2 separate regions of the Homo sapiens genome follow, and region 2 is linked to region 1. The links are contacts of gene promoters, found by promoter capture Hi-C in blood cells and fetal thymus (Javierre and others, 2016). All regions are on one chromosome and are shown on one strand. The core of a region is centred on a gene start or on the middle of the fragment in contact, and the rest is flanking DNA. Distances in the headings are between cores, read along the strand shown. Region 1 holds the start of ZNF101 (zinc finger protein 101). Region 2 overlaps ZNF253 (zinc finger protein 253).

Region 1 (2,890 bases), core at 97-2,596:
TTTCAAAAGACAAGAACTCCTCCCTAGGAGGCTCATCAAACAACCAGGAAAGATTAACCACGCCAGGACAGACTTTTCACCCGTTCTTCCGAGGGCAGCTGGAAGAAGTCCCTGGACGGTCCTGAAACCCAGGACCAGAAAGATAGGAGGGTGGGCTGAGGACCCAATACCCTGTGAAGTTCCCAAGAGAAGCCTCCACCCAAAGACTGTCTGATAAGGTGGCCGCGCCTAGGGAAGGTAAAAAGAGGGCAGGCACAGTGATTTTTTTTTTTTAACATCGGAGTGTCAGGGGGTTATTTTCTGCTTTGCTCGCATGTGAAATGTTCACAAACGGAAAATGAACTTTTTAAGAAGTGCCATCTAGGGCTCCTTGGAAAAGATGACAGTTAAAACACTGGGTCTTGCCAGGCGCAGTGGCTCAAGCCTGTAATCCCAGCACTTTGGGAGACCGAGGCAGGCAGATACCTGAGATCAGGACTTCAGCACGGCCAACATGGTGAACCTGTCTCTACTGAAAATACAAGTTAGCCGGACGTGGTGGCGGGCACCTGTAATTCCAGCTACTCAGGAGGCTGAGGCAGGAGAATCACTTGAACCCGGAAGACGGAGGCTGCAGTGAGCCCAGACAGTGCCACTGCACTCCAGCCTGGGCGACAGAGTGAGACTCCGTCTCAAAAATAATAGAAATAATGATAATAATAATAATGTGAAGTGGATGTACTGGAGGGAGAACTTAGGGTTGGGGAATGCGGGGAAATTTAGGGATTTACTGCAGCCCTGGGAGGAGCGAAGCTGGGGGACGGGGTCGTGGGTTTGAAACCCAGCTTCCCACACCTTTGGAAGACTCCGAAGGAAACGGGGACCGCCTAAGGGAGGAGGAACTGGGGACCCCACAGGCCACGGCTCCTCCCGCACGAACCCCACACCCGAGGCGGGATTCCCCCTAAGACCCTCCTGAGGCCCCCGCACGATCTGGGGAGACGCGGGGCTGCGGGCGCGGAGCTGCCCTGAGAGGGCTCCGGGGCCGGGACAGGACACCCGGGGTCCCGGCGGCTGGTCCAGCTCCACCCGGCGACCGAGGGGACCAAGGGTCGAGCTGCGCCTGGGGGACTCGGGTCCCAGACCCCCACAGTCGCCGCGGGGAGGCCCAGGTCCAGCCACTGCCGGTTCCGACCAGCTCCTCCTCAGGTCTCCGGACGCCCGGCTCCGCACGCTCACCATTTCCGGCTTCCGGGTGTCCTGGGTCCTTCCTGGGGCTGGAGCAGCCAGAACAGGTCCCACACGACAAAATCAGCCGTATCCGGGGCACCAGGGGCTCCCCGAGGAACTAAAACCCGGACCCGAATGGGGGGCCGGCGGGAAATGAGACCGCTTCGGGCTTTGGAAGTTGCCCCTCCTCCCGGCGCACCTGATTGGACAGTTTGCCGCACAGCGCCTCTGACTGGCTGGTGCCCCAGGTCCCGCCCCTGGGGCTTGAGCGACAGGAGAGGTGATCGGAATCCTCAAATAATCCGCTCGCTGTGTGGGGTGTGACTGACAGGTGCTACCCACAGCCCCTCGCTGGGACCTTGGACCTGGACTTGCATGGAAGCAGAACTTGCTCCCGTTAGGGTCAACCCAACCAGACTGTTCCCCTCCTTCCCCCATCAGTCTTACAATACAGTCCTTTGTGACCGCCACACAACTCCCCCCGGGCTAGAAGTAGACCTCCTCCCCACTGACCCTTCCAGTAACTGTTTGTTCAAAAGACTTCAGCTGAACCGGCAGACAGTTCCAGGATGCGGTCACAACACCTGCCCACCTTGCATAACAAAGCTGGCAAAAACATCTCCAGGATGCGGTCAGGACACCTGCACCCCCGACTCAGTTCTCACACCCCAGCCCAGTTCCTCGCCCTATAAAGCCCTGCTGTAGTCTGTAAGCGGGGCTGCCTCCTCTAACTGTGGGGGAGCAGCCCAGCAGGTTAATAAAACTTACTTGACTGACTTCAGGTCTCTTCGTCCTTTCGGCTGACCTTACAGCTCCTGGTTTTCCGGAGCAGGCCCTGTCGGCTTCCTGTACTCAGTGGGTCCTTCCTGCTGCTTTTTTTTTTTTTTTTTGAGACGGAGTTTCGCTCTTGTTGCCCAGGCTGGAATGCAATGGCACGATCTCAGCTAACTGCAACCTCCGCTTTCCGGTTTCAAGCGATTCTCCTGCCTCAGCCTCCCGGGTAGCTGCGATTACAGGCGCCCACCACCACTCCCGGCTAATTTTTGTATTTTTAGTAGAAATGGGGTTTCACCATGTTGGCCAGGCTGGTCTCGAACTCCTGATCTCGTGATCCGCCGGCCTCGGCCTCTCAAAGTGCTGGGATTACAGGCGTGAGCCACCGCGCCCAGCCGCCTCCTGCTTCTTTTTCCGGAACACCGGTCACATGAGTGTGCACGGAATTCCAGACTCCGTGTTCAGTGAAGCCATCCCTCCACCTTGGAGCTGGAGAGACTCCCAGGTCACAATGGAACAGGTAGGAGGCCCTGATGTCCTCCAGAGATCAGGAATTTATGAGGCTATTGGTCCCATGGCCAAGGCTTCCTACACGTTACTTCTTCTCAGGCTACTCCTTTTCAGCCAAGAAAATAAAAACATGCCTTAAAGGGAACAAAATTATTAAATGCAGGGAAAAACTGGAGTAAACCACTTTTTTTTTCTTTTTTTTTGAGACGGAGTCTGGCTCTGTCGCCCAGGCTGGAGTGCAGTGGCACGATCTCAGCTCATTGCAACCTCTGCCTCCCAGGTTCAAGAGATTCTCTTGCCTCAGCCTCCCGAGTCCGAGTAGCTGGAACTACAGGCATGTGCCACCATGCCCGGCCAATTTTTTTTTTTTTTTTTTTTTTTTGTATTTTTAGTAGAG
Region 2 (2,700 bases), core at 192-2,691, 220 kb before region 1:
GTGAAGGGCTCCAGGTGAGCAGAATGCAAATAGCCACATAGAAGAAAAAGAAAGCTCTGTTAGTTATACCCAACACAGCTCTTCCTGCTGCCCAGTATAACATTGTGCTTTTAAAAGTAAATTGCCAGTTGGGCATGGTGGCTCACGCCTGTAATCACAGCACTTTGGGAGGCTGAGGTGGGTGGATCATGAGGTCGGGAGTTCAAGACCAGCCTGGCCAAGATGGTGAAACCTTGTCTCTACTAAAAATACAAAAAATTAGCCAGACATGGTGGCGGGCACATTTAATCCCAGCTACTCGGAGGGCTGCGGCAGAGAATTGCTTGAACCAGGGAGGCAAAGACTGCAGTGAGCCAAGATTGCACCACTGCACTCCAGCCTGGGCAACAGAGTGAGACGCCATCTCAAAAAAAAAAAAAAAAAAAAAAAAAAATTAAATTGTTGGCCAGGCATGATGGCTAATGCCTGTAACCCCAGCACTTTGGTAAGGCAAGGCAGGTGGATCACCTAAGGTGAGGAGACTGAGACCAGCCTGACCAACATGGTGAAACCCCATCTCAACTAAAAATACAGAAAATTAGCCAGGCATGGTAACAGGTACCTGTAATCCTAGCTACCTGAAGGCTGAGGCAGGAGAATTGCTTCAACTGTGGAGACGGAGATTGTAGTGAGCTAAGATTTTTGCCACTGCACTCCAGCCTAGGTAAGAGAGTGAGACTCTGTCACACACACACACACACACACACACACACACACACACACACACAAATATAAATTGCCAACTCCTGGTTTCTTTTTTAAAAATAAGAAAAATATTGGCACATACATCTTTATTTCTGGCATCTATGAACTTTTTTAGACACCGGCTAATGTCTCCCATGACATAAAATGCTGAAACAGTGATATGTTAGAATGACAGTTTGAGTCTGCTGAGTCTAAAGGTAAATGTTACAGAAGCAGAGAAACTGCAGTAATCCAAACAGGAATGGCTGTAGCAAGTGATTACTGATTATTAGGAAGAAATATGAATAAGCCGATTTAACTAAACAATAAACACAAAATTTTAGACAAGACACATCCTAAAAACATGTTTGAGAAATTCCCAGAATCTCTAGCCAAAACAATTGATTTCAGACTACACAAGGACAAAACTATATTATAAAGATTGGCACAGGTAGCTTTTTGTTAATGCCTGAATCTCACTCAAAGATTACAATGTATACAAAATATTTGGGCAGCATGGCCCATCAAAAAAATTATAAAATTTTCAAAAGCAGCCATAAAAAGTGAATAAAGTAATTTTTAAAATTCAGAATAAATTGAACAGGCCAAGCTTGGAAGCTCATTCCTGTAATTCTAACACATTGGGAAGCCAAGGTAGGAAAATCACATGAGGTCAGGAGTTTGAGACCAGCCTGGCCAACATGGTGAAACCCTGTAACTACTAAAAATACAAAAATTAGCTGGGCGTGGTGGCATGTGCCTGTAATCCCAGCCACGTAGGAGACTGACACACGAGAACTGCTTGAACCCAAGATGGGAAGCTTGCAGTGAGTGACTGTACCACTGCTGGCCAGGCTGGGCAACAGAGCAAGCCTGTCTCAAAAAAAAAATAAAGTAGGACAGGAACAGTGGCTCATGCCTGTAATCCCAGCACTTTGGGAGGCTGGGGTGGGTGGATCATTTGAGGTCAGGAGTTCAAGATCAGCCTGGCCAACAGAGTGAAAGCCTATCTCTACTAAAAATACAAAAATCAGCCAAATGTGGCAGCATGCACCTGTAATCCCAGCTACTGGGAGGCTGAGGCAGGAGACTCACTTGAACCTGGGAGGGGTAGGTTACAGTGAGCCAAGATCATGCCACTGCACTCTAGCCTGGGCAACAGAGTGAGACTCTGTCTCAGAAAATAAATAAATTAATTAATTACATAAAAGAAATTGAATGATATTCAGTAAGTGAAATAGGAACACAGACGACTACTGAAGATCAGAAAAATGAGGATAAACAAGAAAAAATATTAAAATAGAAAAAAACAAAAATTATGGATATAAAAAATATAAAAATAACTTAAAAATTTCTTAAAAGAAAAAATAATGTAAACATGAAGAAGCTGAACAAACTAGGATACACAAAAAGATATTTATCACAAACACACCTATAAGCAAAATTTCAAAAATCACAGATAAGAAAAGAATTTTGGGTGCTGCAAGATAAAAATGATGTGTCATTTATAAGCATAGTCTTATAAGATAACCAGTGAATTTATCAAAAAAAATTTTTGCAGAAAATAATACCATCGGCAAAATTGTACTATCATATAAAAAGGAGTCCTTCCAAAATAACCAAATCCTAAGAAAGTATATTGGCACTGCATATGCCCTACCTATCAAAGATGCTGAAAGAAGTTTCTTCCACTGAAAATAACATAATACAAGAAAACAACACATGATCATATGAAAATACATAACTTTCTGGAGAAGATATGCACATACACAAAAATAGAATTCCTTACTTATTATCATAATGGCACAGAAAGCACTTTTAGTTATTCTCTAAAATGCAAAAGATGGAAGTAGAGGAATTATTATAAACATCTGTTAATGAATATATAACATAAGTAGAATTAGCAAAATCAATAACAAAGTTGAAGGCAGATGTAATGAAGAATGTTTGCATGCAACTGAAGTTAATTTTTTACTG

Evidence for each region. The method cuts DNA at HindIII sites, captures the fragments that hold promoters and counts their contacts. A CHiCAGO score of 5 or more calls a contact.
Region 2: a fragment that was not itself captured here is called in contact with the fragment with the promoter of ZNF101 in region 1 in 3 of 17 cell types (total CD8 T cells, non-activated CD4 T cells and naive CD8 T cells); the score reaches 6.5 in total CD8 T cells.

Annotation. Positions count from the first base shown.
Region 1 is chr19:19,667,295-19,670,184 of GRCh38, reverse strand. ZNF101 (zinc finger protein 101) reads right to left here and starts at 1,346. Exons shown (of 4, transcript NM_033204.4): 1 at 1,219-1,346. The coding sequence starts at 1,221. RefSeq lists enhancers at 525-1,090, 1,091-1,657 and a silencer at 937-1,136. The HindIII fragment of the contact is 10,038 bases long and covers 1-2,890 here.
Region 2 is chr19:19,888,566-19,891,265 of GRCh38, reverse strand. The region is part of intron 3 of ZNF253 (zinc finger protein 253); the gene reads right to left. Among named protein-coding and RNA genes, the nearest start is that of ZNF93, 11 kb to the left of the region's middle. The HindIII fragment of the contact is 211 bases long and covers 1,336-1,546 here.